Linked DNA regions of Homo sapiens: region 2 is linked to region 1. The links are contacts of gene promoters, found by promoter capture Hi-C in human tissues and cell types (Jung and others, 2019). All regions are on one chromosome and are shown on one strand. The core of a region is centred on a gene start or on the middle of the fragment in contact, and the rest is flanking DNA. Distances in the headings are between cores, read along the strand shown.

Region 1 (6,006 bases), core at 705-3,204:
ACTGCTGCCTTCCTGGCTCAAGCGATTCTCCTGTCTCAGCCTCCTGAATAGCTGGGATTACAGGCGTATGCCACCATGTTCAGCTAATTTTTGTATTTTTAGTAGAGATGGGGTTTCGATATGTTGGCCAGGATGGTCTCAAACTCCTGACCTCAAGTCATCTGCCCGCCTTGGTCTCCCAAAATGCTGGGATTACAGGCATGAGCCACTGTGCCCATCCTCTGTGTGTGTGTGTGTGTGTGTGTGTGTGTGTGTGTGTGTGTGTGTGTGTTTTATATAAGATGAGATAAAGTTAAAAAAAAAAAGATTGTAGTAGAAAAAGTTTTTCTGATACTCTCTATTGGCCAACTGTGAACCAAAGAGAATAATCTGTCTGACCTAGCTTTGTGACCTGGGGAACGATTATCCATAACATTCAGAATTCTCTTTATTTTACCCTGAGATTGACCTCTCCAGACCCTAAGTTGGGATGTAAAATTCACCTGGATTTAAATTATCACTAATTTACTTATGCAATATGCTCTGTGCTGAGGAGAATGCAAAAAAAAAAAAAAAACCACAAATCCTTGTTTTCAAAGTGCTCACAGTCTAAAAGAGATGTGAGGAGCTGTGCATAAGGCAGAGGGAGCTAAGCCCCAAGAGAGGCAAAAATCTAGATGTTCAGGGAGCAGAAACCAGAGAAGACCTTTTTTTTTTTTTTTGTCTCAGATGGAGTCTTGCTCTGTAGGCAGGCTAGAGTGCAGTGGTGCTATCTTGGCTCACTGCAACCTCCGCTTCCCAGGTTCAAGCGATTCTCCTGCCTCAGCCTCCCGAGTAGCTGGGACTACAGTCGTGCACCACCACGCCCAGCTAATTTTTGTATTTTTAGTACAGACCAGGTTTCACCATGTTGGCCAGGATGGTCTCGATCTCTTGACCTCGTGATCTGCCCTCCTCGGCCTCCCAAAGTGCTGGAATTACAGGCATGAGCCACTGCGCCCGGCCCAGAGACGACATTTCTGCCAGGTGGAGCGACAGACATAGTTACATGGAGAAGATGATGATGATGATGATGATGATAATGATGATGATTTGAGACAGGATCTCGCCCAGTCGCCCAGGATCCAGTGCAGTGGCATGATCGCGGCTCACTGCAGCCTCCATCTCCTGTGTTTAAGCAATCCTCCAGCCTTAGCCTCCTGAGTAGCTGGGACTACAAGTGAGCGCCACCAAGCCCAGCTAATTTTTTTTTTTTGTGTGTATATATATATATATATATATATATTTTTTTTTTTTTTTTGGTAGAGACAGGGTTTCACCATGTTGCCCAGGCTCGTCTCGAACTCCTGGCCTCAAGTGATCCACCTGCCTCGGTCCCCCAAAGTACTGGGATTACAGGCGTGAGCCACTGCGCCCGGTGAGAAGATTATTCTGAGCTTTTTGAAGTGGAGACAGGAAATAGCATGTAAACGCTCCTAGTGCCACTTCCTTCGGGTGGCGAGGTGCACAGCAGTAGTCTCAGGTGTGTGAAGGGCAGCTGTGAGAAATAAACCTGAAAAGACGGGATGGAGACCTTGAACACTAGACTAGGGAATCTGTTCTTGATAATTTAAGCAAACGGAAGCCAATGAAAGTCTTTGGCACACTGTTCATCAAAACTGCTCTTAAGGAAATTAACCTGGCAGGAAGATGAAGGGTGGATTGGCAAGAGGAGAGACTTCAGACTGGGAGACCAAGGGAGGGTGCTGCAACAGTCCAGGCAGACGGAGTGGAATGAAGGTGACCGGCCGCTGCAGCAAGCTCTGGAGTCTCGCAGTTGGGACGTTAGGGGTACCACTCCAGGACAGAGCTCCCTCCTGGGGCAGGGACTGGGAGGAGCCAAAGTTATAGCCACACCCCCGGTGACGCCCGGTGGTCGGCTGTGGTCTCCCATTGGCTACACCGGCTGCCAGTCCCTGGAGGAGGCGGTGCCCTTCCCCGCCCTCTCCGAGCTCGGCTTGAGGCGGGCGCGGGCTGAGAGTCCGGGGATCCCGGGGGCCAGTCGCGGCCGGGACATCGGGCGCTGCGGCCGGGGACCCGCTGCTGAGATAGACAGGTGAGAAAGCCCGGGGACGAGGGGCCACTCCAGAGTTCCTGCCACCCTGGGATCCCCGCCCCCTTGAGGGCGCCCCGTCCAGGGGGGCTCGCGGGGCCGAGGTTTGGGGCGCCGGGAGGAGCGGGAAGGCGGGGACGAGAGGGACGGAGCGGGCTGACTCGGGATCCGCCGCTGCACCTCCCGCCACAGCCCAGAGTCGGCCCCCAAGTCTGGATGTCGCCGGGAGAGGTGGGCAGGGGGCGGTGGCCGGCGGTCCCTCGCGCCCGTGGGCTCCCGTGACGTTCTGTTTGGAAACACTGGGCCCGGGCTTCTGGCGCGGCGCGAGCGGTCCCGGGGGCGCAGCGGGGCAGCCCAGGGTCCCCGAGCCGAGGGACCCGCGCGGTCAGGGATGCCGCGCTCGCCTTAGGCTTCGGGAGATCCACCAGGATCTCCGGGGCGAAACTTTAAACTCAAAACTTTAAAGAAGCATTTTGTACACCTCGAGTTGCTGGCACGTCAAAGCACCCTAAGGTGACCTACCCGGAAACCACTGTCCCCGAAGTTAGTGGGGCACTTTTTAAAGGACAACACTTTTTACCCGTCGATATTGTTGTGCGTAACGCTGTGGAAATAGAAGTCGAACCACTTACATTGGAAAAGCTCTGGTGGTGGGCTACCTGAGGGTCACTGCTTTCTTTGTGAAAATGCCAGTCTTGGAAGCCTGGCCCGCACAGCGGTGTGTCCCAGAGGAGTATGTAGTGAGGAGCTCGGCTGTTCTGGGCAGGGTCACCGAAGGGCAGGCGTTGCCCAAGTGGGGCTAGGTGGCTAGGTGGTGGTCAGAAGGTTCCTTAAACAAGGCATGCCTCAGTCTCGTCGAGAAAGATCTTTTAACACACACACACACACACACACACACACACACACACACACTCACACACACGATTACCCAGCCCAGTTAAGCTGTCCCTTAAGAGGCAAAAACTAAAGAATATCATAGAGACTAACGCTGCGCTTCATCAGGGTAAGCCTAAGTAGAATAATTCTTTCATTTCTTTTTCTTTCCTTTTTGGGATTTGGAAGAGAAACAGGAAGTCAGAGATTCAGAGAAAAGAGCATTCACTCCACAATTGTAAACAGTTTATCTTATGTCAGTAAATACTTCCAAAAATCACTGGGGGTATTTGGAACTCCAAGACTTTTTCCTGTCCCCTGAAGTGAAGATAGATTATTTTCAAATGCAGAATCTAGACATGATAGATTCCTTTCAAATTCAGAATCTATATGTGGTATTTTCTTTATTTAGCAGTCGGCTATGTTATATAGTTATATATATATTCCCAATGTTATATAGTTCTATAACATTAGTGGTAATGAAAAGGATGGCGGATATTGTTTAAAATTAGAATTTTTAACTACCCAAGATGGTGCACTAATACAACAGTTGCTTTGTACTTGTTAACTAACTGAAATTACAGAATGAAATGAGGGAATCAGGTGTCTGGATCTCAGTGCAGACCATTATCCAACCAATTTGCAGTTCTGATTTATTATGACCCATTAATAGGGAATGTAGATGTTAAATGCCAATTTAATAATATTCTTAAGGCTTTGCTACTTCACTATAAAATATATAATTAGCATAACTAAAGAAATAGGTATGTTTGACTTTGAATTAATTTATTATGTCATCATAGCAAAGTGCGCTAGGTAAGATATATGTATGATACTTTTCATATTTGGGGTTAACAGTTACCTCTCAATTTTTTGAGCTAATTGTGAAATTCTTGGCAGGGATAACCACAAATAATGGTTGATTAAATTTGTAAATGCAGTCCTAGTATACATCCATTTAAACTGCGACTTTTTCTTTAGTCATTTGTAAATATGTGATCTTTTTTATTGAGATCTTAATATAAGTCACAAACTATAAGATTTTTCCTTTTAAAGTATACAGTTCACTGGGTTTTGGTATATTCACAAGGTTGTATAGCCATCACCAATATCTAATTCTAGAATATTTTCATCACCCCAAAAAGAAACCCCCTATCCATTGTAGTCAGTATCTGCTACCTTCTCCTCACAGCCCTTGGCAACCACTAACCTACTTTCTGTCCTTTGGATTTGCCTCTTATGGACATTTCATGTAAATGGACTCATACAATATGTGGCCTTTTGTGTCTGGCATCTTTCACTTAGCATAATGTTTTCAAGGCTCTTCCATGACTATAGCGTGTATTAGTACTGTATTCCTTTTTTATGGCCGAATAATATTCCATTGTATGGATGTACCACTTTTTTTTTTTTTTTTTTTTTTTTGAGACAGAGTCTCACTCTGTCACCCAGGCTGGAGTGCAATGGCAGGATCTCAGCTCACTGCAACTTCTGCCTCCTGGGTTAAAGCAATTCTCCTGTCTCAGCCTCCCTAGTAGCTGGAATTATAGGCCTGCACCACCATGCCTGGCTAATTTTTGTATTTTTAGTAGAGACGGGGTTTTGCCATGTTGGCCAGGCTTGTCTTGAACTCCTGACCTCAGATGATCCACCTGCTTTTGCCCTACAAAGTGCTGGGATTACAGGAGTGAGCCACTGCACCCAGCCAGATCTACTACATTTTATTCATTCATCTGATGGTGGACACAGGCTGTTTCTACTCTTTGGCTATCATGAATAATGTTGCTCTGAACATTTATTTACAAGTTTTGGTGTGGATGTGTATTTCATCCCTTGGCATATGACCCCATCCCTTGGCATATGACCCAGCAACTCCAATGCCAAGTATAAAGTTACCAATACTTTATATTGATATACCAAATATAAAGTTACTCCAATAACTTGGTAACTTTATATTTAAACTTTTTTTTTTTTTTGAGACGGTGTCTCACTCTTGTCACCCAGGCTGGAGTGCAGTGTATGATCATAGCTCACTGCTCAAGTGATCCTCCCACACAGGGCTCCCGAGTAGCTGGGACCACAGGTAAGCTCCCCGACGCTTAGCTGATTTTTAAATTTTTTGATAGAGATGAGGTCTTGCTATGTTGCACAGTCTGGTCTTGAACTCCTGACCTCAGAGATGAATTCTCCAACCTCAGCCTCTCAAACTGTTGGGATTACAGGCGTGAGCCACCATGCTGGCCTGTTTAAACTTTTCAGGAACTGTAAAACTGTTTACAAAGCAGCTGTACCATTTTTACATTCCCACCAACAATGTATGAGGGTTCCCATTTCTCTACATCCTCACCAACACTTGTTGTTAGATGTCTTTTTCATTAGAACATCCTATTTGATGTGAAGTGGAATGTTGTTGTGACTTTGATTTGCATTTTCTCTCATAGCAAATAATGTGCTTATTGGCCATTTGTATATCTTCTTTGGATAAATCTCTATTCAGATACTTTGCCCATTTTTATTTATTTATTTTTAATTTATTATTATTATTGTTTTTAAAGATCGGGGTCTCCCTCTGTCGCCCAGGCTGGAGTGCAGTGGTGTGAACATGGTTCACTGCAGCTTCGACCTCCTGGGCTCAAGTGATCTTCCTGCCTCAACCCCCAAGTAGCTGGGACTACAGGCCTGCACCACCATGCCTGGCTAATTTTTTTTTTTTTTTTTTTTTTAATAAAGACAGGGTTTTGCCACCTTGCCCAGGCTGGTCTCAAACTCATGAGCTCAGGCAGTCTAACCGCCTCGGCCTCCCAGAGTGCTGGGATTATAAGCATGAGCCACCACGTCCAGGCCTTTGCCCATTGTTTAATTGGGTTATCTTTTTTTATCGTTGAGTCCTAAGAGTCCTTTATATATTCTAGACACAAATCCCTGAGATACATGATTTGCAACTATTTTTCCCATTCTGTGGGTTATCTTTGCACTTTCTTGATAGTGTCCTTTGAAGGACAAAAATTTAAAAATTTTTATGAAGTCCAATTTATCTATTTTTTCTTCGATTCCTTGTGCTT
Region 2 (5,489 bases), core at 2,946-5,445, 210 kb after region 1:
GAAGTTAATACGAGGAGAAATTACAATGTAGCCCAGCATGAGCAGAGCTGGTTACCTACAAATAAACCTGCTTTTGCTTTTTTGGGTGTCACCTGTCAGAAATTCAAGTGATGTTCTGACAGTCGTACTGATTAAGATGTCAGCCGAATAGATACTTAAGTATTTGAAAAATACAGAGAGTTTGTCAAAACCTCAGGAAGAGTCTAACAAATCCTTCCTGGGAGCCAAGGAAAATATTTTAAAATGGAACAGAGGTCGTCCCCAACCCAGGCACGAATTTTCTTCCTCCGAAAGATGAGCTGCCTGTGCAACTCCTGGAAGGCACAATCCCTCAATGGTGGTTGGAGTCAGGGCTGGCCCACACCTGCCTTCCCAGGCCACAGTGAAGGGGCTTGGGGTGAGCCTTGGAACAAGCAACCAGGCACCTCTCCCCTTCCTCTTACCCAGTTTCTGCTCTGCCTCCTCTGTCTGCCAGCTCCCTCCCCTTCTCAAAGCACCACACAGTGGAACCCAGTTGGGCTGCAGGTTACCTCCACACATTGCTCCAGACTCCAAATGTCTGACCTTCCTTCCTCAGCGCCTCCTCCATGCCTAAATCCGACCTGGGGATGTTTTGGCCAGCAGAAGTAATTTCTCAGCTCATTTACATTGTCTAATATCCCTCCTGCAGATATTTGTTTTAAAAACAACAACAGCAAGATGCATGTTAGCCCACATGAGTCTCTTAGAAATGGATAAGATTTTTTTTTTTTTGACAGAGTCTCACGCTGTGGCCCAGGCTGGAGTGCAGAGGCACGATCTCGGCTCCCTGCACCTCCACCTGCCGGTTCAAGTGATTCTCCTGCCTCAACCTCTTGAGTAGGGTAGCTGGGACTATAGGGGTGTGCCACCATGCCCGGCAATTTTTTTTTGTATTTTTAGTAGAGACAGGGTTTCACTGTTTTGGCCAAGCTGGTCTTGAACTCCTGGCCTCAGGTGATCTGCCCTCCTCAGCTTCCCAAAGTGCTGGGATTACAGGCATGAGCCACTGCGCACAGCTGGCAATGGCTAAGATTTTTTGATGATTCAACAACAACAACAAAAATGGGACAATGAAGCAATGTGCACAGTGACAGCGGAGAGGGCGAGTGAGGGGCAAGGCCGAAGGGCTGATCTGCCAGGAGTCCAGCATCTGTCCGAGCTGCTTTCAATCTCCTCAGGAGCTTGGGGCACAGACCTTCTTACCTCCTCTCCCTCAACCTCCCTCCTGCTTGGGGGCTTTGGCAACTGGGGTTGAGGTGGGAATGGAACTCTGGAGTTCTACTCACTGGCTTGCTCTCTCAATTTGACAACATATTGTGAAATATCGTACACAAATCAGCTTAAAGAACTCTCATGTACACACCACCAATTACCAAAAGCTTTGAAGCTTGATCCCCGCACTCCTACTGTGTCCCCTTTCTCCTTTCATCTCTCCCCGCTCCCCAGAGATAACCCCTCTCCTGAATTAGGTGTTTATCTTTCCCATTTTTTTCTGTATAATTTTGGGTCTTTATGGTGATAATTCAAACATTAAGCAATGGAAGTCACTTTCGTCTGCTGTTTTTCATACTCTCCCAGAACTCTAAGGGTTCCCCACAGCACGCCTGCGGCATACTGTCACCGAATTTCTTTCCCTCCACCTCCACTGACCTGGAATGTTCTTTCCGAGAACTTCTGGCCCCCATCATTGCAGGGGTACTTTGACAAGAAGACTGCTGTATGTTATTTGTTATTTTCACGTAAGGCATAAGTCATGTTAGTTTCACCTACAGCATGTGCGTGCATTGTGTACATAGTGAAAATAAACCCTGGTCAGATGCTTGAGGTCAGCCTCCCTCTCTGCCTGGTCTGTCTCGCTCCATCGTAATCACCTGTCTCATCTGCCAAAATCTAAGCTTTTCAACGGCCTTTTCATTGTCACATCCCAAATTCCAAGCCTGAAGGGTGTTCTGGGCTCCCCATAAGTGTTTGTTGGGTGCATGGTTGATTGAAGGAATGTATAGTGTGAGAATGGTAGCTTGAGGAGGAAAGTCTATGGGAACTTGTTAATGAAAGTGTACTTGTTCCTGCCTGACAGAAATGTAAGAAAAATTGAATGCAGTAAAAAATGGAGGTCAGACGAGGTGGTTCACCCTTGTAATCACAGCACTTTGGGATGCTGAGGTGGGTGGATCACTTGAGCCCAGGAGTTTGAGACCAACATGGTGAAACCCTGTCTCTACAAAAAATACAAAAATTAGCTGGGTGTGGTGGGGAGGCTGAGGTGGGAGGATTGCTTGAGCCTGAGAGGTTGAGGATGCAGTGAGCTGTGATCATGTCACTGCACTCCATCCTGGGTGATAGAGCGAGACCCAATCCAAAGAAAAAGAAATGATGGGGGACTTCCTGTTGCTTCTTTGTTTGGGCCTCAATGGTTTAAATGATTGAATTGTCAAAATAGGAGGAATTGAGATCTGCAGATGGTTAATACCATTCAAAGGTATCAGCCGACACCATGAAACATTGATTTTTTAATGTACATTCAAATATACCACCACTTCGACAATAACAACAACATGATGATGATGATGAGAGGGACTTCCTCTCAAAGCTCCCAGCAGCATTTTCCATCACTTTGTTGCATGAACTCTTCATCAAAATCAGATATGAGGAGAAGTATGCCAGATGTTAGTGAGGACTAAGATGTTGGTTAGAATTTTTCTCAGGGTGGTATCTTCATGAATATTGGGCATTAACTCTCAACAGCTGCTTCCCTCTCACATGCTGCAAGTGTCATGTCTGTTTGGCCTCAGGAGATATTAAGCCAGCTGCAGGGAAGAGAAAGTTAAAGGCAAAGAGTTTGCCCACTCCAGTCAGGTCTTCTCAGAGCACAGAGGTTTTTTTATAGAACTCTCTCCGGTCCAGAGTCTGGGTCTCTTTACCAGAAGCTGCTTGGCTTCAGGCTCCACCAGCCTGAGGTTGAGGTTCTCTGGGAAGGTGCCCCGGGAGAAGCCCCAAACCTCTCTCTGAAGGGAAGAGGAGATGGGCCCTTGTCAGCACTCCTATTTTCCCAAAGCCCTGAGGTTCCACCTGTGCAATCCCATCTGTTGCCAATTTGAGATTTAACCACGTCGGCTCTAAGAAGTTGCTCTCACCTGTTGGTTTCCTTCTTGTCTTCTCCTATGTTCTCAGCAGCTTCTAAAGGAGCCCCTCATCTCTCCTGTCTCCCACAGGGCCTCCAGGATAGATTGTTCTCCTCTGAAAGTGACAACAGCCTGTACTTCACCTACAGTGGCCAGCCCAACACCCTGGAGGTCAGAGACCTCAACTACCAGGTAGAGGCACGCCTGGGTTCAAGGGGAGAGGAGCAGGCAGGGACAGCCAGGAAATTCCCCGGGTGGAAATAAAAGGGTGGGCCCAACTTGCAGGCCCTCTGCCCGCAAGGACAGAGTCCAGTCCACATTGATGCCTCACGTGTCAGGTGCAATAGGTGTCATCAATGGCATATATCAGAGCTGGAGGTTGAGAGGCTTGAAAAGAGAATAAAACTGTTGTATAAACATAAAACAAAATGCGTGAACCTATAGAAAAATGTCTCTGGGACTCTTTTTAAACTATATTTTGAAATAACTTTAGATTTTGGAAAAAATTGCAAAAATAACACAGTGTTTCCATATACCCATTGTCCAGCTTCCCCTAATGTTAACATCTTGCATACCCATAGTATAATTATGAACACTAAGAAATGAACAATGTACAATGCTATTAACTACAGACTTTATTCAGATTTCATTAGTTATATATATATGTGTGTGTGTGTGTGTGTATATATATATATATATATATAATTTTTTTTTTGTAAAATGTACTATCCCTGGAGCTTATAAAACATCCAGAGTGCAAAGACAATGACTGACCTTTCAGAGGCACCCAGGAACCCCCTGGTCAGATTCAAGGATCCATATTCCCACAGCTCCCCAGGGACCCAGATGGGACATGGTGGGGTCTGGGATGGTGAACTTCAGAGGCCTGAGTCTGGCTTCCTGTGGGTGTGAGTTGGGACAAGCCAATGAGCCTTTCTCTGCTCTGCCACTTACCAGCTGTGTGACCTTGAGCAAGTTGCTTAACTGCCCTGAGCCTCATCTGTAAAACAAGGATTCTGAGCATATCTATGTTATAGATTTGCAGTGAGGATTGAATAAGGTGATGGATGTTAAGTGATTAACACAATGTCTTGCACATAGTAAACATCTGATAAATTATTAGTAAATTACTAGTATCAAGTGAAGACATTTTGCTTCGTGTTTTATTTTTATTTCTGTACCACTATTGCACATGATTTTCTTTTTTCCTTACTTTTTTTTTTGAGATGGAGTCTCATTCTGTCACCCAGGCTGGGATGCAGTGGTGCAATCTTGGCTGACTGCAATCTCTGCCTCCCAAATTCAAGTGATTCTCCTGCCTCAGCCTCCCAAGTAGCTGGGATTACAGGCAACCACCACCATGCCTGGCTAATTTTTGTATTTTTAGTAGAGGCGGGGTTTTACCATGTTGGCCAGGCTGGTCTCAAACTCCTGACCTCAGGTGATCCACCTGCCTCAGCCTTCCAAAGTGCTGAGATTACAGGCATGAGCCACCATGCCTGGCCTGTACATGCTTTTCATTCTTCTTATCTTCAGACCTAGAAACAGCAGCTACAGGTTCTCAGCATGGGTCCTGCTTCCGTGTTTGGTAGAACCTGGGTTGGGGCCTATTGTGTGTAGGTGAGGACATATCCTCTGTGGAGAGGGGCCACCTGGGGAACGAAGATGCTGAACAGAAGTTGCTGAAGCCCTCTGAACCATTCAGCTCTCTAAGGAACCTTCTGATATCTCCCCACAGGTGGACCTGGCCTCTCAGGTCCCTTGGTTTGAGCAGCTGGCTCAGTTCAAGATGCCCTGGACATCTCCCAGCTGCCAGAATTCTTGTGAGCTGGGCATCCAGAACCTAAGCTTCAAAGTGAGAAGTGGGCAGATGCTGGCCATCATAGGGAGCTCAGGTACCGGAAAGGCAAATCGCTGGGCAATGGTTTCTCTCCTGGGATACAGAATGGTCCTTTGGACAAATGGATGCTTCTTATGGAGCTCTTTGCTGACTAGTAGAATAATACAGCAGAATGGCTGAGAACACAGGTTCTGGGTCAGACAGACCTGGGCTCAAATCCTGGCTCCTCCATTTGCTGGCTTGAGGGTAGGTGCTGTTGTTAAGAGTCATGAGTGCGCCTCTTGTCCACCCGAGGCTGTGGCCAGAGCATCTGACTTTGGCTAACACCTGGACGGAGAGATCAGCAAACAGCTCCAGCATGTAATGTTCTTTTCAGACTCCTCCAGCCATGAGGGGCATTGGTTCAGGTTGTTCCTCCACAATCACATTCTGATTATGGCCAGACAGCCCCTGCCACACTCTCACCTCTCAGACAGCCTCTCCAGTGTCTTACTTAGCACAACTTT

What was found. Contacts are between HindIII fragments. The study calls those that stand out against the background at their distance.
Region 2: a fragment that was not itself captured here is called in contact with the fragment with the promoter of PLEKHH2 in region 1 in 1 of the 25 tissues and cell types used here (IMR-90 fibroblasts).

The regions. Positions count from the first base shown.
Region 1 is chr2:43,635,306-43,641,311 of GRCh38, forward strand. It overlaps PLEKHH2 (pleckstrin homology, MyTH4 and FERM domain containing H2), which reads left to right and starts at 1,955. Exons shown (of 30, transcript NM_172069.4): 1 at 1,955-2,074. RefSeq lists a silencer at 1,859-2,188. The HindIII fragment of the contact is 17,439 bases long and covers 1-6,006 here.
Region 2 is chr2:43,841,274-43,846,762 of GRCh38, forward strand. It overlaps ABCG8 (ATP binding cassette subfamily G member 8), which reads left to right. Exons shown (of 13, transcript NM_022437.3): 2 at 3,234-3,335; 3 at 4,882-5,038. LOC102725159 (a long non-coding RNA gene) reads right to left here and starts at 3,247. Exons shown (of 2, transcript XR_940032.4): 1 at 3,156-3,247; 2 at 2,514-2,828. The HindIII fragment of the contact is 5,067 bases long and covers 1,663-5,489 here.